5 separate regions of the Homo sapiens genome follow, and regions 1, 2, 3 and 5 are each linked to region 4. Evidence: promoter capture Hi-C in 16 types of primary human blood cells and fetal thymus (Javierre and others, 2016). All regions are on one chromosome and are shown on one strand. The core of a region is centred on a gene start or on the middle of the fragment in contact, and the rest is flanking DNA. Distances in the headings are between cores, read along the strand shown.

Evidence for each region. The method cuts DNA at HindIII sites, captures the fragments that hold promoters and counts their contacts. A CHiCAGO score of 5 or more calls a contact.
Region 1: a contact is called between the fragment with the promoter of FANCB here and the fragment with the promoter of MSL3 in region 4, in 1 of 17 cell types (naive CD8 T cells). The highest score is 6.1, in naive CD8 T cells.
Region 2: a contact is called between a fragment that was not itself captured here and the fragment with the promoter of MSL3 in region 4, in 1 of 17 cell types (fetal thymus). The highest score is 5.3, in fetal thymus.
Region 3: a fragment that was not itself captured here is called in contact with the fragment with the promoter of MSL3 in region 4 in 1 of 17 cell types (total CD8 T cells); the score reaches 6.2 in total CD8 T cells.
Region 5: a fragment that was not itself captured here is called in contact with the fragment with the promoter of MSL3 in region 4 in 1 of 17 cell types (non-activated CD4 T cells); the score reaches 5.0 in non-activated CD4 T cells.

Annotation. Positions count from the first base shown.
Region 1 is chrX:14,870,553-14,874,828 of GRCh38, forward strand. It overlaps FANCB (FA complementation group B), which reads right to left and starts at 2,517. Exons shown (of 10, transcript NM_001018113.3): 1 at 2,434-2,517. MOSPD2 (motile sperm domain containing 2) reads left to right here and starts at 2,869. Exons shown (of 15, transcript NM_152581.4): 1 at 2,869-2,985; 2 at 3,137-3,206. The coding sequence starts at 2,977. RefSeq lists a silencer at 2,607-2,836. The HindIII fragment of the contact is 4,870 bases long and covers 1-4,112 here.
Region 2 is chrX:15,675,918-15,680,169 of GRCh38, forward strand. The region is part of intron 1 of CA5BP1-CA5B (CA5BP1-CA5B readthrough); the gene reads left to right. It also overlaps the pseudogene CA5BP1. Among named protein-coding and RNA genes, the nearest start is that of CA5BP1-CA5B, 2.6 kb to the left of the region's middle. The HindIII fragment of the contact is 629 bases long and covers 1,184-1,812 here.
Region 3 is chrX:15,336,811-15,341,164 of GRCh38, forward strand. No RefSeq gene overlaps it. Among named protein-coding and RNA genes, the nearest start is that of PIGA, 3.5 kb to the left of the region's middle. The HindIII fragment of the contact is 2,735 bases long and covers 110-2,844 here.
Region 4 is chrX:11,755,180-11,759,486 of GRCh38, forward strand. MSL3 (MSL complex subunit 3) reads left to right here and starts at 3,058. Exons shown (of 13, transcript NM_078629.4): 1 at 3,058-3,186. The coding sequence starts at 3,085. MSL3-DT (MSL3 divergent transcript) reads right to left here and starts at 2,904. Exons shown (of 2, transcript XR_007068393.1): 1 at 1,573-2,904; 2 at 1-341. RefSeq lists silencers at 2,598-2,797, 2,818-2,967, 2,978-3,357 and an enhancer at 3,211-3,505. The HindIII fragment of the contact is 7,532 bases long and covers 609-4,307 here.
Region 5 is chrX:15,745,395-15,749,835 of GRCh38, forward strand. All of the region lies in intron 1 of CA5B (carbonic anhydrase 5B), which reads left to right. The region is part of intron 4 of CA5BP1-CA5B (CA5BP1-CA5B readthrough); the gene reads left to right. Among named protein-coding and RNA genes, the nearest start is that of CA5B, 9.3 kb to the left of the region's middle. RefSeq lists an enhancer at 1,776-2,637. The HindIII fragment of the contact is 2,553 bases long and covers 320-2,872 here.

The DNA of each region.
Region 1 (4,276 bases), core at 1,267-3,766, 3.1 Mb after region 4:
TTGACTATCTATTTTATACATAAAATTAAAACAGATGTGTGTGTATACTAGAAAAATGATAATATATACAAGCATATGCTAACATAAAAATAGTAGGCTGGCAATAAAATTATCATCCTCATCTACTCTTTACTGCCCCCCCTCTTAATAAATATGTTGTTCATTCTTTTTAAATGCTCATAAATCATTTTGGCCCTATAAATGTGACAATTCTTTAAATAAACTATCAGTGTGGTTCCAGATTATCCTAGAAGAGCAGATGACATCCAAAAAGTCTAAGAAACCATATTAACTGTGACCAAGAGAAAGTATCCTTGGGAAAAAAGTAAAATTAAGACACTCAACTAAAATGGCACCTAATAATACTGAACATAATTTTATGAAGATAATAATGATAGATGTTGTTTTTCCAAGACATATGACATTGTTAACCAAAGTAAATTAACTTTCCTACAAAATAGGGCCACTGTTAAAAGTTTTTTTCTCCCTACATAAGTTATTTATTGGGTCCTATACAGAATTGATCTCACCTTTTTCAACATTATCTAATATGCCTGAAATGTGAGTAAATGCGGGAGAATCGTGATCAACTAAATTAGAGGATTTGGGAAGATTACGCTAAAGAAGATTTTTATGTCATATTAAGGACTTATAAATTTCTCATATAAGTAATGATAACCCACTGAAAGACTTCAAAAACAGAAATCACAGGACTGTACTTTTGAGTTATGAAGATCCTGGTGACAGTGTTAAAGGTGTGAGTGAGATCAGACTGGAAAAAGAGCTAACAATTAGAAGAAAATTATGAGTACTTAAATAAAAGGGAGAGATGACTCTGAAGGTAATTTGGCAGTCAACTGAAATGCATATACCCAGTAGTTTCATTTGTAGATATAAACCCAGAGACATAATCCCACATATGAATGAATACATTGCTCTAGAAGCTCACTGTGCTGATATTTGCAATATAAAAAAAGTAAAAACCTCAATGAACACCAATAGGGGAATGAGTATAGATGGACTATCAAACAAGAGTTAAAAGGAATGAATTAGATCTATCTATCTATATATGTGTGTGTGTGTGTGTGTATATATATATATAATCATGGTTAAATTTCAAAAATAAAATGAATTAAAAATTAAGTTGCAGACAAATGTACACTGCAGCATATTATTTATGTAAAACAAATAAAACAGCATTATATATGTTCTATTTACCTACAATGACTACAGTCCCTGAGTGCTTTCTCAAGAAATAGTGCCATGTACTATTTTTTTTTTTTTTCCTGAAGAAACAGTGCCAGGTACTGCTCTAAGCACTTTGGATTAACTCGTTTCTTCCTCACAACATCCTTATGACATAGGCACTGTTACTATCCCATTTTATAGATGGAGAAACTGAGGCAAGGAGTTTCAGGATCTTCTCAAAGGCTTGCAGATAAGAAGTGACAGAGCCAGGATTCAAACCCAGGCAGTATGATCCAAAATAAAAAAATGTAAAACTGTAAACATTTCATGCCAAATTCTGAATGCTGTTGATTCTGGACAAGGAAGTGTCCAGGATAGGTGAGTAGAGGTAGAAGGAGACTTTAGTTATATCTGAAATATCTTTTAAGGATGTAGTCAAACAACGTTTAAACAATGTGTTCATTTTTTCCCATAAAAAATGTAAATATATTTAAAAGTCTAGGACAAAAGATGCTAACATGCCATTCTGTCATGGATGACTACGGTTGATGGAAATATGGGGGACTATTCTTACAACTTGTTTGTAGTTTTCAGTATCTTTCAACTTTAAAAAAGGCAATATTGTATGCGCAACTATTTTCTTTCAATTGTTTTTAACTGACGAATAAAATTTGTTCCAGTCCCTTTAAATCTAAATCTTTCTCAACCTTGACACTATTGACATTTTGGGCTGGATAACTGTTGTGAATTTTCATGTACACTGGAGGATGTTTGGCAGCTTCCCTGGTCTCTATCCACTAGTAGCCAGTGAGCATCTCTTTTGCCCCCGGCCCCTAGCAGTGGTGACTAAAAATGTCTCCAGAGGTTGCCAAAGGTCCCCTGGGTGGTAAAACCGCCCCCCCCACACACACCCCCCCACCCCCCCGGCTGAACACAACTACCTTAATAAGCCGAAACACGCTTTTTTTAACTTTATATAATTATTTGAGATTAAAGATTTCAGAGATATTTTGCTCATTAAGCATCTCACACTCCAAGTTGGAAGGATACTGAAGGGATGAAAAAAACTTCAAGCGAATGTAGCACTTAAAATCCAATTATCATTGCAAGGAATGACAGACCCAGGTCTCGGGATGCCCGCTTCCTTCCCTCTCTCCCGCAATGCGGGGACAAGGGGAGGAAATCCAGCCCCATCGCCCCCTCTGCGAAGTCCTGGGAAGGGAAGACTCGCCAGCCCCATCCTACCTCAACGCAGCGGCAACATACCGGAGGCCCCACGTCGATACGGTATCCATCTGCTCCAAACCTCCCGCCAGCGCGCTGCATCCTGGGAGGCCGGGCGGAGGCTGCGTCGAACGCAGAGGAGGCGGAGCCTAGAAGCCAGCCAGGAGAGGTGGCCAAGGGAGGCTGAGGAGGCGGGGCCCTGGGGAGTGTTGTGAAAGCAGAGAGCCCGCGAGCTCTCTAGGGCGGAGCTCCGCGGGGGAAGCGCCGGCGATCTCGCGGCTGGCGGGGGCGGGACCGCAGTGCGGGGGATGTCGCGGGGCGAGGCCAGACGAGAATCGAATGGGACCTAGGCTGAGGGCCTGGTCCCGCCTCCAGACCCAGGCGTCCGCATTGGATTGGGCGGTGCGGCGGCGCTTCTGTCCGCCTTCCGGTGTCACGCGACCGCCTCCCCCTCCCACCCTTCTCTGTCTACCTCTGGGCGGGACTGCCGGGTGATGAGATACTCGGTCGGCGACGGTAGAACGGGCGACGGCGACAACCGCAATCACATCCACGACGGTGATCATGGCAGAGGTGAGGAGCCTATTGCACCGCCGCTGGCCCCCCGGACCCGGAAGCCGCCTCTGAGGCCCGGGGACCGAGCGCCCGTGTGCAGGTGGGCTGGGTTGAGGGTAAGCGGGTTGATGCAAGTAGTATCTAAGGTCCCATCGTGTCTCCCATCCAGAATCACGCCCAGAATAAAGCCAAGCTCATCTCTGAGACCCGGAGGAGGTTCGAAGCTGAGTATGTGACAGGTGGGTACTCTGTTCCAGGTATTAAGAAAGGTGTGCAGTGAGCATCCCCAACTTTGCTGGAGTGTTTGTGAGTGTATTTGTGGGAGGTGTTAGGGACCCTTTCGACCCTCACAGGAATGATGCTGGGCACGTCTCAAAGGTTTTCCTCTCCATGACAAGCCGTGTGCACTGCTTCAAATGGTCAAGTGGTGTGTCCCATGCTCCCTTTAAAGGGTTAATGTAAGTTGGAAATCGGTTAAGTTTTTAGCATGCCCTCGTGTTTATGGAACTTGCAGGATACTTGTTAGGCCCACAACACGGGTGACATTGTCCAGTCCACGGTTCCACTGCTGGCCTTTCACCAGCAACACTAGCGAAAATGTACCTGGAAACTGCCATAATACTATTGATGTGTACTTAATTGGGTATACAAATTCCTTGGATATTTTGTTTGATTTGGCTTTCATACAACCCAGCATGCTACCCACAAAATAGGCCCTCCAATGCTGGAACAAGTTCTTATCCCAAACTGTATCTTGCAAAGTACCTATGAGTCCAGAATTGATTTATTGGTTGAACATTCTGTGTCCAGATGTCACAGATACTTGAGTTGTCAGGTACTTAACTGAATATTTAATGCTTGTACAGTAATTTTGTAAAACATACGGAATAACTTATTGTAAATATGGAATTAAATAAGGATTTATATGTTGCCTACCTTAAGATTGATTGTAATCCTAACCCTGCCACTACATAGCTTACTTGTCTATTCTGAGCCCGTTTTCATATCTGTGAAGTGCAAATAATAAAGTTAGTAGGATTAAATTTTTTAAAAAAACATAAACCATCTAGCATGTCTTAAAATATAGTGGATTCTCAGTGAATATTTTGCCTCAGTTGTCATTTTGGTTACTGTGAAAGGAGTTAAGCTTCTACATCTTGACTAGTACTCAGCAGAGGTTCCCTGCAACTTTAAACCATCCTAGATTATACATCAGTTGATGACATAGAACAAATATGGAAATCGGTTTCAAATACTTGTCAGTAAATCTTTTCATACCTCCTTGCCAATTTTCTTCACACCCCAAACT
Region 2 (4,252 bases), core at 248-2,747, 3.9 Mb after region 4:
TTTGGTGCGGCGAGGTTGGCCGGGGCCCTGGCGGGGCTTCTCTGAGGAATGGGAGTGGGAGGCTGGCGGCGGGGAAATAGCCACTTCCCCACTCTAGCCCTCTTTCTCCGCTATGGGGATCACCAGACATCCTTTTAGGATTCTGTCTATTAAAAAGTAGAACAGCTTTCCCAGAGACATTGCGGGATGAGAGGAGTGTCCAGAAACCAAGGAGCAGCAAGCTGGGACTCCCTCGGGTCTGCATTGTTGATATTCCCACCTGACTATGCTAGGGGCTATGGACAGACACAGCCACCCCAGAGTAGATCAAAAGCACAGTTGTGTCCCTTGGACAAATCTGAGTTTTTCTGTTGTGCCTTGCCCCAGAGCCGGAGGAGAGGAACCTCCAAAATGCAGACATTCTTGGTGGCTGGGATTCTGTGTGATATTCAGCGTTAAATGCTGCTGCTCTGAGGCTGCTGGAAACGCGTTAGTATTAATATCTGTGTACTTCTCTCACATTTACTTTTGCTGGAAAAGCTTGGGAAATGACTTAACGAAGATGCGTAAACCTTAATTTGTTTATATGCTCCTTATTAGCCACTGAATACCACATTGCTTTCTGCTTCCCCTTCTTCTTTACTGATAATCTGACCATTTCCACTATGCACTTTGAAAGTCTTGCTGGAGTATGGAGAATAGTCAGAAATCTCTGGTAAGATGCTGCCCCGCGCATCTCTCAGAGGAGTCACTATTCATAGCCTGCATCAGAGTTCACAATGAACCAAAGTTCACCCCACCTCCCCTGTCTTCAGGGACTTAGTGAAAAGCTGCACTGTTCTTGAATATTTTGGAAATGAAAAACTTTCTGGGCTATTTTAAATCAGTACCTGGGCTGGAATTAACCGAAAGGCGAAACAGCAAGGGCACCATTCTCTGTGCCTATACGTAGCTGCCCTGTGCTTGGAACCAAGCAAAAAGGCTGCCACTGCTCACAGTTGCAATGGAATAAAGGTTGAGTGCCTTGTGATTGCATATGAATATTAAGGAAATCTGATGGAAAGAGGGAAATTCATCATGTCACTGGCCACACTGGGGCAGTTAGTTGCAACACACAAATCAGGTATAATATATTTTGAAACCTTTGGCAACCTCAGATTGGGATCACACTCTCAAGGAAGAAGTGAGTGAGAGGAGGAAGCTAAGCTTTCTTAAGACATAGCAGCGTAATCTCTAATTTAAGTTTCAGGAAATTGCAAAAGGCAGGCTTCCTTTTGAAATCAGGAGTTGAGAAAATGAAGAGTCAATCTGATGCCAATCAAGGAATTTTTCAATATAATTGTAACCTTTTGTTAGTACTTTTCCTGTCTCTTTCGCATAAGTTGCTTAATCAGGCAGAGTTCAAGCTATGAGGCATTTAATAAATACATTACTTATGAATGACATTTAAAGACTTTTAGAATCTTTTCTTTTTTCACACATTTCTAAGGCTGCAAAACAACAGAAAAAGAACATGTTAGTAATATCCAAGGCATACATGAATAATCAGTGACAGCAAAGGATGTGTAGCACAGAAGGCTTAGCTCTCCTAGGCGGTATCCAGCCACACACTGGTAATTGTTGAAATGGAGTATTGGATATATAGATGATTTATTCTCACCATTTTTTTGTACAAGTTTGAAGTTTGCCCTAATAAGGGGAAAACAGATTCTAAATTCAGTTGACCCATGGACTATTGCTGTTTAAACCTGCTAAGTGAATTCAGATAGTGAAGTTATTTAAAAACCAGATGCTCTTACCTGGCTGCAGGAACTATCAAGATAAGATATTGAAAGCTTATTGGCAGTCTGTCTTTTAAATCCTGAGCCAGACTTTTTTACATGGCTTCAACAAGGTGATTTTTCATCTCCTTAGACATTTTGACATACACACTCCCACTAAAAACTGTATTTACACAAACACAGATAAAACTAAACAAAAGTGATTTTAACTTTGGTTTGAGAATTGTCAGCACCTTTTAGGCAACGCAGACATACTTTAGGTGTCACTGGCTGTTACGAGTTCAATTGCACCCTCCCATCTCAAACTCATATACGTTTAAGTCTTAAGCCCCAGTACCTCAGAATGTGACCTCATATGGAGATTGGGTCTGTATAAAGGTAATTATGGTCATTAGGGTGACCACTAGTCCAATATAACTGGTGTCCTTAATTAAAAGGGAAATTTGGACACAGACAAGATGAGAATGGCTTACGAAAATTGGATTTAATGCTGACACAAGCCAAGGAATTACCAGAAGCAAGGTTTATTAGGTGTTCTCCAGAGAAACAAAACCAATTGTGTGTGTGTATGTGTATATATGTGTGTGTGTATGTATGTATGTGTGGGTGTGCCTGTGTGTGTGCTTGTGCGTGTGTGTGTGTGTGTGTGTTTAGAGAGAGATTTATTTTTAAAAATTGGCTCGTGAATGTAGGCTCGTGAAATTTGCAGTGCAGGCCAGCAGACTGGAGACCAGGGAAGAATTGATATTACAGCCTGTCTTACTCAGTTTTGTGCTGTAACAGAATACCTGACACTGGATAATTTATAATGAACAGAAATTTATGTGGCTCATGATTCTGGAGGCTGGGAAGTCCAAGGGCATGGTGCCAGCATCTGCTCAGCATCTAGTGAGGGCTCTCTCTTGCATCATCCCATAGCACAAGGCAGAAGGGCAAGAACATGTGCATGTGAGGGGTGGGAGTGGTTGGGGGTGAAGAAGGAGGGAGGGAGGGAAGGGAAAGAAGCCAAATTTATCCTTATATCAGGAACCCACTACCTCAGAAACTAACCAGCTCCCCCTAATAATGGCATTAATCCATTCATGAGGGGAGGGCCCTCATGATTTAATCACCTCCCAACACTTTTGCGTTGCAGATTAAGTTTCCAAAACGTGAACTTTGGGGACACATTCAGACTGGATTGTGAGCACAAACTGGTGCCATGGCACAGCTCCAGTCCAAAGGCAGTCTGGAGGTAGAATTTCCTCTTCCTCAGGGGACCTGTCTTTTTCAACTTAAGGCTTTCGACGGATTGGGTAGGGCCCACCCACATGAAGGGTAATAATCTTTATTCCAAGTCTACTGATTTAAATGTTAATCTTATCTAAAAAATACATTCACAGTGACATTTAAACTGGTATTTGACCAAACATCTGGGTACCATGACCTACCCAAGTTGGCACATAAAATTAACCATCCAAGTAGAAAGGCCTGGAACAGAGCGCTCATTGCCCTCAGAAGGAACCAACCCTGCAGAGAACTTGGACCTCAGATTTCTAACCTCCAGAACCATGAGACAACAAAAATTTTTAAGCCAACCAGTCTATGGTACTTTCTTACGAGCTAATACATTGGCCTAAAGACCTCCGGTAGGGAGTCAAGCCTAGAGGTAAGGAACCTCCACAGGATTCACTAACTTCCTACCAGTCCCCTTTAATGTAATGGCTGCACATCTCTGGCTCCCTGAGTTCAGCGCACATTAGCAAAGTGATGCATATGCAAAGCAAAGCGCATGGCACTGTGCCAAAAGACTGGCTTCTCATCCTGCTGTGCTTTATTTCACAATGCACATAGAGATGATTCTCGCTCCTTTCACGTAGGTGTAGTCTTCTCTCTAGCTTAGATGGAGCAGGATCAAGGACAGCAGTACAGAGGAGAAGAGCTAGTTCACAGCCAATTACTAGCATGAATGTGCACAAAGAGAGGGGAGGATGAAAGCACGTTTGCCTCCTTTCTCAGCATCACTGAGGACCATGATGTGGGTTTTATATCTTACATTCTTCTTGGAAAGATGGTGTAAAGAAATAAAGTTCAGATTTGTAAGGGAAATGTGTCTTTAGTGCCCCTCAACTTCTACATTTGTGCCTTTTGCCACCCATTCCCACCTACCCCAACCCCCACCACTACCCCACCATGGCCATACTGCTGAGAGCCCCTCTTTTGGCAAGAGAAGGCAGAATCTGAGGTGGCAAAAAACACCCTGCTGCAAACTGGTTTGCTCTGTGTTTCTCTTACCCATACTATGTGCATTTCAGGAGGCTCCTAAGGGAGAAATTACATACCTGGAAGGTACAGTTCAAGTCTTGGTCATCTTTGCATCATAGCACCCACCACTGTGCTTGGAGCAAAAGAAATGACAATACATTTTGAAATGAAAGTGCTAACTGGCAGAATCCCAGCCCTGTGAGACTAGATGAGGTTCATACTCAGGGAGGGTCCTCTTTTTAGATCAG
Region 3 (4,354 bases), core at 227-2,726, 3.6 Mb after region 4:
TTAATGAGTTGATGAGTAAGACTAGAGTAGCAATCGATACTTTGCCCTGTGTTAATATTGATGAAGCATCGGAGAATTACAGTGATGAAGACTCAAGGACACTTAATTAAGCTTTATAATTTGTAGTTGGTTTCACAGATAACAGCGACATTACCAGATAGGTACAGCATTTGGCCTCCTTTCCATTTTTGTAATAGGTTTTAAGACAAAGAGTGGGGGTAGAAATCCTGGAAGGTATAAATGAGGGTTAAGCCTCACTTATTGAGCCCCTGGTTTGCCCCTGCCATAGTTCTGATCACAGTACACGTTTGAAATTCCACCATGAATCTTTTTTCAAAATATAACAAATATTTCTTATTTTTATCATCAAACATTTACTGGATGTCTGCTCTGTAAAAGGCCTTGTGGGGAATACAAGAAATATTAAGCATAGTCCCTGTGTTTCAACAGCTTTTTATTTTTTCTAGCTTTTCCTGTACATGTTATCAATAGTCAAAAGAAATCCACCTTTCTTAAAAGGTTCTTTGTGTTTCAAATATAGAATAGGCTGACCTTTATAAATAGATATTAATAGAGGCACACTGTTGCTGAGTCTCTGTGGGGGAGGGCGTTGAGGAGCCTGCAGGCTGTTCCAACAAAGTCTGAAAACATTGAACATTTATTTAAAGCTCCAGCTTCTGTCCTAGGCACTGAGCATTAAAAGATAAATAAATCATGATTCCGACTCCCAAGGGTTCATAATCTCACCTGGGTACATGACTTCATTTATAGTCAGTTAAGTAAAGGTCTCCATTTAAGGCTATATTCTAAAAAGTCAAAAGAAATTTGTAGTAGCAAGATTAAGATATAAATCTGGAGATGATTCTAATTATGGTGTCCTGCCTTAATGTATGGTCTCAAGGTATGTCTTGAGAGAATTTTCTCCGGAACCACTAAAATTAGACTAAGATACTTACATGCATTATATTCTGATTGCACTTAATAAAATATGAGGGCAATTGGTACCAGTTTTAGTATTAAACGACCTGAGATGATGAAGATGTAAAATAAATGTAGATATCATCTTCCCTTGAAATTCAGTTTTTGCAACTTCATATGTAAATTAGCTCTTTGGGATAATCTTGGAGTGCGAAGGCAACAAACATGTCTTGAGAGCCTACTATCTGTGTACAAAGCACGATGCAGAGAAAACCTGGCATGAGCTTTACTTGCAAGGAAACAATACAGAGTTAAGGCATATGTAAATATCTACGATAAAAAGCAGGAAGTGATAAATGCCATAAGAGAAATATAAGAAAAATATTGGGAGTTCAAAGGGGAAGAGTATTTCTAGCTGCCAGCATTTAGCTAGAAGAATAAGTAGATGGTGTCATGCAACTCTTGGGAACAGGGTAATTCCAAGAACAACATGAATGAGGTACAGACAGGTGCTGTCCAGCAAACACTGCTTTGTAATCACAAAGGAAAAGAGAAGGGAAAGTGGGCAGACAGAAGAAGAGTGGCATTATCAATGAAGGTTAGAGCAAACTGGTAGAAGATATTACTAAGGAAAATGGGCTTGATGTTGAGGCGGACTTCCAGCCAAGATCACATTTTCAATTAGTATTTTGAGACTCCTAACTCCTGATTCTGCTTCAAATATAACAATAAGTGATACAATATAAATGAGAAAATTTAATGTTTTACCTGTGATTTAAACAAGAAGATAAACATTTCCGTGTATCAGAAACAGAACCAATACGCAAAATGGTGATCAGGAACAAAGCCACCTAGGTCCTGGATTCTGTATGTGGCAGCAGGAAGATGTGAACCAGGGTTCAGCCCCTGTAGAATAATAGACTAACAGGGTTCCATGTGTGGCTTGATACAGGAACCAGTTTTGTGAGAGACTGTTACAACGGTGACCTTCAATAAACCAGTATTCCATATTGGCAGCCTTGTCTAATCCTCTCCCACATTGGCTCTGGGTTTGAGCATGTGACTGGAATGGCCAAATGAGATGCCACAGATGCTTAATAAGTGTTTATTTACTGGGATGCATCTTGTTGGAACCTTTCCTCTTGAAAGCCAATGACCATGCTGTGAAGCTCAGACAAGATATTGGATAATGGCAAGCCACATGGAGAGAAGCCCTGAAGAATGAGAGGTCATCTTGGGCATTCCAGCAGTAAGTGAGTTCCCAATTTAATATAACCACTGGAGTGACTTCAGCCTATACTATGTGGAAAGAACCACTTAGCTGATCCTAACTAACCCACAGAATTATGAGAAATAATAAATCGTTATTGTCTCAAAACATTAAGTTTTTGGGTGATTTGTTACATAGCAATAGATAACCAAGCCTTATTGCTTAACCATCTCCCCTACTTGTGAATAGACATTGAAAGAATTTTTTGCCAACAGTCTGAGGATATAACTTTGCTAACAGAACTGAGCCAAGCAACATAATTTGCAATTTTCCACTATCACTGCTAGTCTGGGGGATATAAGCACACACACACACACACACACACACACACACACATACACACACACACACACGGGGAGAGGAGAGAGTGAGAGTGAGAGCGAGAGAGAGAGAGCTCTCAAGATTGGTTTATAAACCAAAATTCAAAAACAATGGAAGATATATAATATTAAGAAAGACAACACACAAATGTAACAATGGAAGAAGAATTCACTCTAGACGCAATTCAAATAATTTTTGAAATGACATTTTTAAAAGAATAAGAATTTGGAAATAAAAACATGCAGAAATTAAACAAACACCAGTGGATATAAAAGAATCAATTAGATACCTTGAACATGAAGATGTTACTAGCATTTTTAAAACTCATATTGATAAGCTTTAGGCTACACACTGTTGAAACAAAGGTTAGTGTGGTGGAAAAGAGTAACTAAGGCAGTTACTTCTTTTTGATGCAGAATATGAGATGAAATGTCAAACCACAATCAAAGCTTTGTCCTAGGAAAATTGTTCCAAGAACTGGAGAAAAGGAAGGTGAAAGAGTGGCACAGCTGGAGAAGAGACCAGTTAGGCTGTTCCAGTAGTCCAGAAGCCTCCTTGCAATTTAAAGTAGGGGCTGCAGATCAGCAACAGCAACTGGGAGCTGGTCAGAAGTGCAGACTCTCAGATTCTCCAGACCTGCTAAATCTGAATCTGCAATTTAACAAGATCTGGAATGATAGTATGCACATTATAGCTTAAGAAACTAGCTCTAGACTAGAGGCAATGAGGACCTGATGTTTTCTCGTGGCAATAAAAAAAAAGAGAGAGACAAGGAAAATCACAGGATATTGGGATTTGTTTGAGTGATGTCTTCCTTTTCGTTTTAGCACCCTTTTTTGAAGACCGTCCTCCAGTAGCCTCCTAAAGAAGACTGCATGGGAGATCGGGAGATTTTCTAAGAACTTTAATGTCTGAAAATTTATTTTTCAGCCCTCCAATTTTATTGATAGTTTGGGTGCCAAATAGTAGGCCAGAAATTATTTTCCTTCAGAAGTTTAGCAGCATTGCTCTAGCCTGCTAGCTTTTGGTGTTGCTATTGAGAAAACTAATTTCATTCGGATTCCTGGCCCTTTGTTTGAAGTTATCATAATTTTTCTTTACTCTGGAAACTTATACATTATCTCTTAGTCTCCCGTGTCCTGAAATTTCATCATTTTGTGCCTTGGTATAGGCATAGTTTCACCTTTTGGACTAGGGACTCAGAGAGCCTTTTCACTTGCCAACTCATGTGCTTCGAAATTCTCTTGAATTTTTAAATTGTTGATTACATCTCCTATTGTGTCTCTTCTCATTTCCTGTAACTTCAGTTATTCTGATGTTAGACCTTCTTATCTTTTCACTTTTAATTTCTTATTTATTCTACTTCATAGGAAATTTCTTCAACTCTGTCTTCCTTTTTTGTTCTATTGAATTTTCAATTTATTATAATAGTTTTAGTTTCCTAGGGCTCAATTATGTCCTCTGACATTTTCTTTTTTAATAACACCTTCATTTTATTTATTAGTTGCACTGTCTCACCTTCTTCCCTCATCCCCTGGCTATTAATGATTTGAAGTTTTCTTCTGTTTCCTCCAAATTGCCTTTTTCTGTGTGTTTTACTCTCTGTCTTTCATGTTAGAAATTTTCCCTGGAGGTCTGGGAATTCATGCTTGCTTGCTCATACTTAAAAGAAAGGGACAAAGGAGCTGATCTGAGGTCTGAGCCCAGGAATGGGGCTTGATGACCTCTTTGGGCTGTTCCATTTGATAGTCCCTCCCCCAGCTAATTTCAGTCCTTTTTAGGTCTTTTCTCTTAGGCTGGTAAGATTCCCCCTAGAGAAATACTTTTCCAGTACAGATCCAACTG
Region 4 (4,307 bases), core at 1,808-4,307:
GAAGGGGATTGCCGGGATTGGTTTAGACCAGTAGTTCTCAGCCCCGCCTGCACAATGGAATCGCCTGGGAACTTTGGAAACAAAATTCCAACTCCTGGCAACAGTATTTTAACAAGTTTTCAAAGTTCCCCAGCTGTTCCAAATGTATACCCAGAGGTGAGTCCTACCGTATTAGCCCGATCAAGTGTCACTCCAGCCCTGGTGAGAGGTCTGCTCTAACAATGTGGGATGGCAAACACCTGAACAAAATTGGGCCTCTGCCAGCGGGGCGGCGGGCGACGCAACTAACTGGATCCCGCACTGCACTCACCTTGCTAAGAGAAGCAATTCCTGTAGGTGACCTATAATGAGAAATCAAAAAGATTTGTTATAAGATTTAATGGTTATCTTAATCCCGACAAAAACAAGACCATTCTATAATCATGCCCGAATACAGACGAAACTACTGTCCAAACCTCAAAAACTGGAAAATGAGGAAAACACCTAAGTTGCAATTCAAGAGTGCCTTCCTCTCTGGAGCTTTTTCAGATACTCTCCCTCCTCCTAGAGAGAAGTAAGCTCTTCTGTCTCCTCTATTCCACACCAGCTTTATCAGGGTATGCACATAAAGCTTGAACTTGATTGCTTGCTGCTCCGCCCTCCTGAAATGTGCCCTCTGGGAGGACAGGGGTAATGTATGTATTCTACTTTGTGTGTCTAGCAACCAGCACACAGGAGGTCCAATAAATATTTGCTGAATGAATGAATGAATGAATGGGGGACACGGAGAAACAGATAAGAAATGCCTAATGTCAAGAGCAAATATTTACCCAGCCCTTATATGTCAGGCACTACACAAAGCCATGTACACTGAATTGACTCATTGACTCCTAAAAAACCCTATGAAGTAGGAGCCACTATTTCCTTCATTTTAAACATGAACAAAGTGCATTACAAAGAGACTAACCAGTTGTCCATGGTCACAAGCTAGAAAGTGACAAGCATGGGACTGGGTCCTGGAGAGTGGTTTGCAGAGCTGGCCATGTTCTTAACCTTTACACCCGAGAGGAAAAATGATGTCCTGCATTAAGGGTGGAGCCCTCTCTAGTGGATCCTAATCTGGAGGAGGACTGTAAGGGGTGCTGCCATTGGCAGGCTTTTTAACTTTTAGGTTCCTGAAGGCTTTTGCATTCTTGGACTTTTTAGAGGGACGGGGAAAGAGGAATTCCTCAATGACATAAGAAGGGGTGGAAATGCGGAGAAACAAAGGAAAGCATCTAAAATCCTATCCCTGAAAGGGTAGAGCCTGCAGCAGAACTCTCTCCAATCATGGGCAGGAAAAATAAAAAGGTGAATACTTCAGTTACGGTTTACACAGGACGTGCAATTACATGTGCTTCCAAGCCGCCCCTGCCATTTGTGGGGAACACCACCATCTACTGTTCTCATCTCTGATACACCACAACCTGGAGAGGAATCATGGTTCCAGTTCTAGTTTCTGCACCGTATTACCCCAAAGGCCATTTGACCATCTTCCCCCAACCTTTAACTCCTCTGTATAGCCTTATTCTGGCGGATGCAGCTATTACTCACCCAATTCCTTGGGCCAGAAAACCTGGAAGTCTCTCAAGATTCCTCCTTCCCTCTCCTTCACATCCAATTGGCCACTGAGTTTTGTGGGTTCTATTTCCTAAATCAATCTGTTCATTCATTCCATATTATGTGCCACGAATACGCCGTGATGAATTGGATAAGACCCCTACCCCCAGCTTCAAAGAGCTTACTGTCTTAATGAGGTCATTTTGCAAATGAACAACCCATTCTATAGCACAGTGGTACATGCAAGAAAGGGGTTAAGCAGAGTCCTGGGAGGGAACACCTCAGGGCTTTATGATTCATCTTGGGAAGCCTGAGGGCTTTTCTGTTGGCATGCCCACGCTGAAATGTGAAGGATGTATACCAGGAACCTGGTGAAGGAAGCGTGCAGAGGGGAAGCAAATGCAACTTTCTGGAGGCTAGAACAGAGAAGGGGAAGTTCACCAGGTCCGCAGAGATTAGCCTGGAAGCTGGTCTCCAGCCCGGTCCTAATCCAGTAATTACACTGCCCAACGGCTTTCCAAAACTCAAAAGAAAAAGCCCAGCACTGTCCTTCCTGTCCCTGGAAGTTTGTCCTTCAAGTCTCCCATCACTTGTCATTCGCTCATCAAGTATTTACTTAACATCCACTCTGTGCAGGTACCATATTGATAGCGGCCTCAAGGGTGCTTCTATTTAGGGAATTTTTAGTCTATTGGAGCAGATAGACCGTGGGGGGCATTCCGGGGATGCTGGGGGCTGTCAGGCCACGCTAGAAGCTGACACTGAAGACGTCAGCTACTCTTTAAGGACCCATCTGCCTCGCTGCCCACTGCTCAACCCGTCACTGGGGGCTCCAGGCCTGCCACCGGCTTGTCCTCTGAAGGGATAAGCAAGTGTTCTATTCACAGCCCGGAGTGCCCTTCTGCCCTCGCCCGAGGCCACTGCCCGCCTGGGGCCAGCTCCAGCGCTGCGTTCTCCAAGCGTGGCCACACTCATCGGCGCGCTGCTCTGCCAAGGGGGCTGACGCGGCGCGCACGGCCAGGGAGCTCTTGGGGGCAGACGCCGTCCAGCCTCCCGGCCGCCGGGTGCCTACTCCAGACCGGCTCTCTCTCTCCCTAGGCGCCTCCCACGCCCGGGCCGGAGAGCGGGCGCTCGGGGCGACGGACGACCCTGCGCGCACGTGGGCGCAGCCTGGAGGCCGCGGGGACCCTCTCCCATGGGGGCGACGGGAGACGTCCTGCCGGTAGACCTTGGCCAGGGGGTCGCGCTCCCCGCCCGCACCCCTCCCGGAGCCCCGGCGGGGACGTGCGGGGACGCGCCCGGGCGGGAGCGCGCGCGCCAGGCGCCTCCGAGGTCCCGGCAGCGGCTCGGGGCGGGCGGAGGAGGGGCCGAGGGCGGGGCGGCCGCAGCCTCCGCCATTCCCGGCCCCCCCCGGCCACGGCGCACCGCCTCCCCGCCCCCGCCCGCCCTCCCCCACCGCGCGCGCTCCGCCCGCCCCGGAGCCTCGCCCTCCGCCACGATGAGCAAATGAGCGCGAGCGAGGGCATGAAATTTAAATTCCACTCAGGGGAGAAAGTGCTGTGCTTCGAGCCTGACCCCACCAAGGCGCGAGTGCTGTACGATGCCAAGGTGCCGCCGCGGAGGGACAGGGAGGAGGCGCGGGCTGGGGGACCCGGGACCGGGGGCGGGGGCGGGGGCGGACGGCCGCGCGGAGCTGAGGGACCGGCCGGGCTCCTCGGCCTGCGAGGAGCGGTGCGGCCGGCAGGGGGCGCTCACAGGGCGCTACGCCCGGGAGTCGGGGCGGGGTCTGGGATGCTTCCACTTCCTTCCGTCAGGCCGGGCGGCGCACGCGCGGTTGGGAGCCTCGCCCATGCTTTGTCGCGTTACCGGGGCTACCGTTTGCGCCCCCGACTGCAACGGTGGCCGCTGAGGGAGGAGGCTTCTCGAATACGGTTTCTGTCTTCGCGTTAAATGTCTCCTTCTGTGCGGCCTGGTGCCGGGTGGGCTCCTGTGGGACGCCCTGGCCGTCCGATCCAGGTTCTAATTCATAGTTACACGGCGCTGGCCGCTGACTTGCGACGTTGTGTCCCTGGGACCCTAGTCCAGTTTAGGCCCCATCCCGCCTGTAGGCCGTGAACCCCATCCCGAGGGCAAGGTTGGCCCAGTGTTTTCGTACCCCAGGGCCTTGCAGCATTTACGTTTTCAAACTCTGAAGGATTTACGTGGGTCTGACCATAGTTGATGGGAATCGCGCCCCGGGCCGGTCCACCTAAGTCTCCGGGAGCTGAGCCACATCTTGCAGCTCCTCAGATTTGGGTGGCGGGCAGGAGTTGGCACCAGGTCTCCCAGATCCCCAAGGAAAGCACCCAGGTGCTTTCATTTCAGAGACCTGGGTTCCTAGGGCCACCTGGGCGAAGCCTTAGGCGGCAGGGACAGGGGCAGTCCCAGGTGTGTCTTTGGCGATGTCTGGACAGCTCTGTCCATTAGAGATGCTAAAGGACATCCCTAAAGGGATGAGCATATTCTGCCTTCAGTTCCCTCCCCTGCTGCTCCTGTCTTTTAACCGCGTCTGCTATCCCTCTTTCTCCTCGCCCTCCAGCCTCCTCGGGGCGGAGGGGGGGGGGCACGCCCCATCATTAGTTTTAGTTGTTCCCTCTAGGGACACAACAGGGAGGGATTCCAGAGTCTCCAGCTAGCCATCCTGGCACTGGACATAGGGGAGCCCAGGAGACTACAACTCCCAGAGCTCT
Region 5 (4,441 bases), core at 346-2,845, 4.0 Mb after region 4:
GGATGATGAAATAGTTTTGGGTGCAGATGGTGGTGATGGTTGCACAACATTATGAATGTATTTAATGCCACTGAATTTGTACATTTACAGCTGGTTAAAATGATAACTATTATATATGTTTTATCACAATTTTTAAAAGGTAACAAAAAAAGAAGTATTTGTTTAAATAGTTTTTCTTTGTAGATTGCAAGCTTGTGGGAGTGGGGAAAGAGCATGATCTTTTCATCTTTACACAGCACAGTGCTCGACATGAGATAATCACTCACTGTTCCTTCAGTTCAGGACTGGAAATCAATGGAAAGGAAGAACAGTTAAGGCAAGCTTTCCCCATATCTTTTAGAAGGTTTTGAAATTTCATTTTAATGTCAAATCAGTTTTATCAGAGGGAATCCTGATTAGTTGCAGTTGTTTGTTTGGGGATATTTATTGACTTTAAAAGAAAACAAAAAAATGATACTAAAAGTCGTCCAAAATGACTATTTTCATAGCTTTTTGCATTTATATGATGGGTAGCATTTTAACAAAATCAATTTGAGTAATAATAACTTGTATTTATATAACACTTAGCAGCTTTTTCAAAGAGCTTTCATAGCTTGCACCATTTGAAGCCACAGAAAGCGTCAACTTCTTTTTTTTTTTTTTTTTTTTTTTTTGAGACGGAGTCTCGCTCTGTCACTCTGTCACTCAGGCTGGAGTGCAGTGGTGCAGTGGCATGATCTCGGCTCACTGCAACCTACACCTCCCGGGTTCAAGCGATTCTCTTGCCTCAGCCTCCTGAGTAGCTGGGACTACAGGTGCACGCCACCACGCCCGGCTAATTTTTTGTATTTTTAGTAGAGATGGGGTTTCGCCATGTTGGCCAGGATGGTCTCGATCTCCTGACCTCATGATCCACCAGCCTCAGCTTCCCAAAGTGCTGGGGTTACAGGCGTGAGCCACTGCACCTGGCCAAACTTCTTGTATAGTGTAACTGAGCAACTATTTTTCCTGCTCCTTGGGTTCTAGATTCTTGCATAAATTTAAGGGTGTACTTTAAGCATTAATCTTAACCATTTCAGTTCATATTATTGTAACCACTCAAGGGATTCTTCCTGCCTGCTGCACAAAGAAAGACCACGGGGCATTGTAACCGCCCAGTGGGTTCACATTGCCCGCTGCCTGGACAGAATCGATTTACCAAGACAGGGGAATTGCAATGGAGAAAGAGTAATTCACATAGAGCCAACTGTGTGGGAGACCAGAGTTTTATTATTAAATCAGTCTCCCCGAGCATCCAGGGATCAGTTTTTAAAGATAATTTCGCGGGTAAGGGCTTGAGAAGTGGGGAGTGCTGATTGCTCAGGTTGGAGATGGAATCATAGGGGGTTGAAGTGAGGTTTTCTTGCTGTCTTTTGTTCCTGGGTAGGATGGCAGAACTGGTTGAGCCAGATTACGGGTCTGGGTGGTGTCAGCTGATCCATCAAGTGCAGGGTCTGCAAAATATCTCAAGCGCTGATCTTAGGTTTTACAATAGTGATGTTATCCCAAGGAGCAATTTGGGGAGGTTCAGACTCTGAGCCAGAGGCTGCACAACCCCTAAACTATAATTTCTAACCACTAGCTAAGTTGTTAGTCCTGCAGAGGCAGACTCGTCCCCAGGCAAGAAGGGGGTCTTTTTGGGAAAGGGCTGCTATCAATTTTGTTTCAGAGTCACACCATGAACTGAATTCTTTCCCAAAGTTAGTTCAGCCTATGTCCAGGAATGAACAAAGACAGCCTAAAGGTTAGAAGCAAGATGGAGTTGATTAGGTCTGATTTTATTCACTGTCATAATTTCCTCAGTTATAATTTTGCAAAGGCGGTTTCAGCATTGTAGTAAAGAAAGAGTTTAAGTAGACACGAGGCTGGCCACACCATGTGGGAGATGGAATTAGTACTGAAATAATCTCCTCCAAAGCTCATAGGTTACGGGTTTTTCAAAGGCAGTTTAGGGGAATGGGTGGAGGTGGCTAGGCTTGCTGCTGATTGTTTGAGGAGGAGATGAGATCAAAGTGTCCTTTGATTTCAAAAATACAATGAGGGATAAGTTGATAGGATGTCTGGGAATTTGCTTCAAAATAAGCTGGGGAGGAAAAATGGCAGGAGGGGGGGTAGAAGATGTATAAATAAAACTTGATTGGCCATGAACAGACAATTGTTGAAATGGAATATTGGGTACATGGGTGGTTTTATTATAGTGTTCTCACTATACTTGTATAAAATTTAAGTTTTCCATAATAAAGTTTTTCTTTGTTAAGAAAAACAAAGCAGAGTGAGATTCTAAATTGAAGTTGCCAATGGCCTATTGTTCTTTAAGTCTGCTCAGTTAATTCAGTTAAGGAAGTTATTTGAAAACAGGGTGCTAATGACGCGGCTTTGTTTTCTGGGGTAAATACCCTGGGTTCGGTGTCTCACACGGAGAAGATTAACGACAGGGACACACACGTGGAGTTCAGGAGAGGAAAGTTTAATAGGCAGAAGAAAGGAGAGAGGAGAGCAGCTCTTTCTCTTGCGAGAGGAGAGCAGCTCTCTCTCTTGCAAGAGAGGCGTCCAAAAATGGGACAAGTGGCGGACTGCAGCAGATTTTATAGGCAGGCTTGAGGAGGCGGTGTCTGATTTACATAGGGGCCACAGATTGGTTCGACCAGGTGTGACATTTACATAGCACGCAGGAAGGCTGGTCGCCCCACCCTAATCTTATTTTGCAAAGGGGCTTTCTACTTGGCCAGTGCCATCTTGTCTGCTCCTTACTGTACACTTAGCTGGCAAAGGGAAGATGAAGCCGCCATTTGGAACATGCCTAGTCCTATGTAGTATTTTTCTATTGGCACAACTGCCAGCATTCACCTGTGCAAGCTTCCAGCTTGCTTGTCTATGTCTGCAGCTCAATTTTACAGGCTGCTCTTTGTTAGGAAAGAAAATGATTTGGGGGCTGCTTTTTATTAAAAGGAAAACCTTACTGAGGACTCCCATATCCTCACTATCTGCCTAAGTAATTTCTTCTTAACTCCTATATCACTATTATTTAGCTCAAGGCACCATCAAGATAATCCCTTGAAAGTTGATTACCAGTCCATGTTTGATATCCTGAGTCAAACATTTGCATCTCTTAAATAAGGTGCATTTTGACATACATGCTCCGTTCAAAAATGTATATACACAAACACACACATAAAACTATAAGCAGGCCAGATGCAGTGGCTCACACCTGTTATCCCAGCACTTTGCGAGGCCATTAAGCAGGAGGATTGCTTGAGTCCAGGAGTTTGAGACCAGCCCAGGTAATATAGTGAGAACCCCCCCCCCCGCCCCCGCCAACCCCCATCTCTAAAAAAAATAAAGTTAGCCAGGGATGGTCGGGCACAGTGGCTCACACCTGTAATCCCAGCACTTTGGGAGGCTTGAGGTGGGAGGATCACTTGAGATCAGGGATTCAAGAACAGCCTGGCCAACATGGTAAAACCCTATCTCTATGAAAAATACAAAAAAGAGCCTCTGCACAGGTCGGAGGGAAAGAAAGGAGTTGGAAGATCTGAAGCCCACGTAGCTGGTGGGCAGGCAGGAGTGCAAATGGATGTGAGGCCGAGATCTTAGCAGGCCCAGAGCACATGGCCTTGCAGCCACACCACAGTCATGGTTGCACAAAGGATGTCCTGAACATCTGTTTGAATGTGTCTCAAGTACTCAGACTAAACACTTCTAAATCTGTAGTGGAATGAATGTGTAACCAAGAAGAATTGATTTTTTTTTTTTCAAAATTTCAGAATGGAATAGGGATAGTTTTCAGGGAAAATGGATGAAGCAGTATTGTGGTGGGGAAAGTGTTCAAAGTTAATATTACCATAACTTCAGAACACCATAGTGAATACCTTGGAAAGCATCATCTTCATCTTCTGAGACTTTGACTGTGACCATGTGAAAGGTAGAGAGAGAATTCAGGATTAACTTTGTCTGTTTTCCCATGTTCAAGGGCCATTGTGTTACACCTAAAATTGGCAAAGAGTCATAGATTATATTTAAGCTCAGATTTCAAAACTGTCCATGACTATTTTGGCAGGATGTATCTTGGGTTTTTTGTTTTGTTTTTGTTTTTGTTTTTTTGTTGTTGTTGTTTTGTATGCAATCTAGATGCAGATGTTTGTTTTTAGTCAGCCTGGAGGGAGCTTTAATGTTGGGGTTCTTCGTACATGTAAATACCATGCTGGATAATTAATTGGGATTTCCTGGAGCAATTTTTTTTTTTTTAAGAAACTGTACTGTAAACAGTTTTTCATTCTTGTGGATAAAGAGAAGCTTTTCTCTGGATTTCTAATATTCGCCAACCCTGAGGGAAAGGCAAAGCATGTGAGTCAGTCCTCAGGACCCTCCCTGCCCTCCACTGAGGGGACCAATGAGTTTGAGGAACAAGAGTGGATAAACCGTT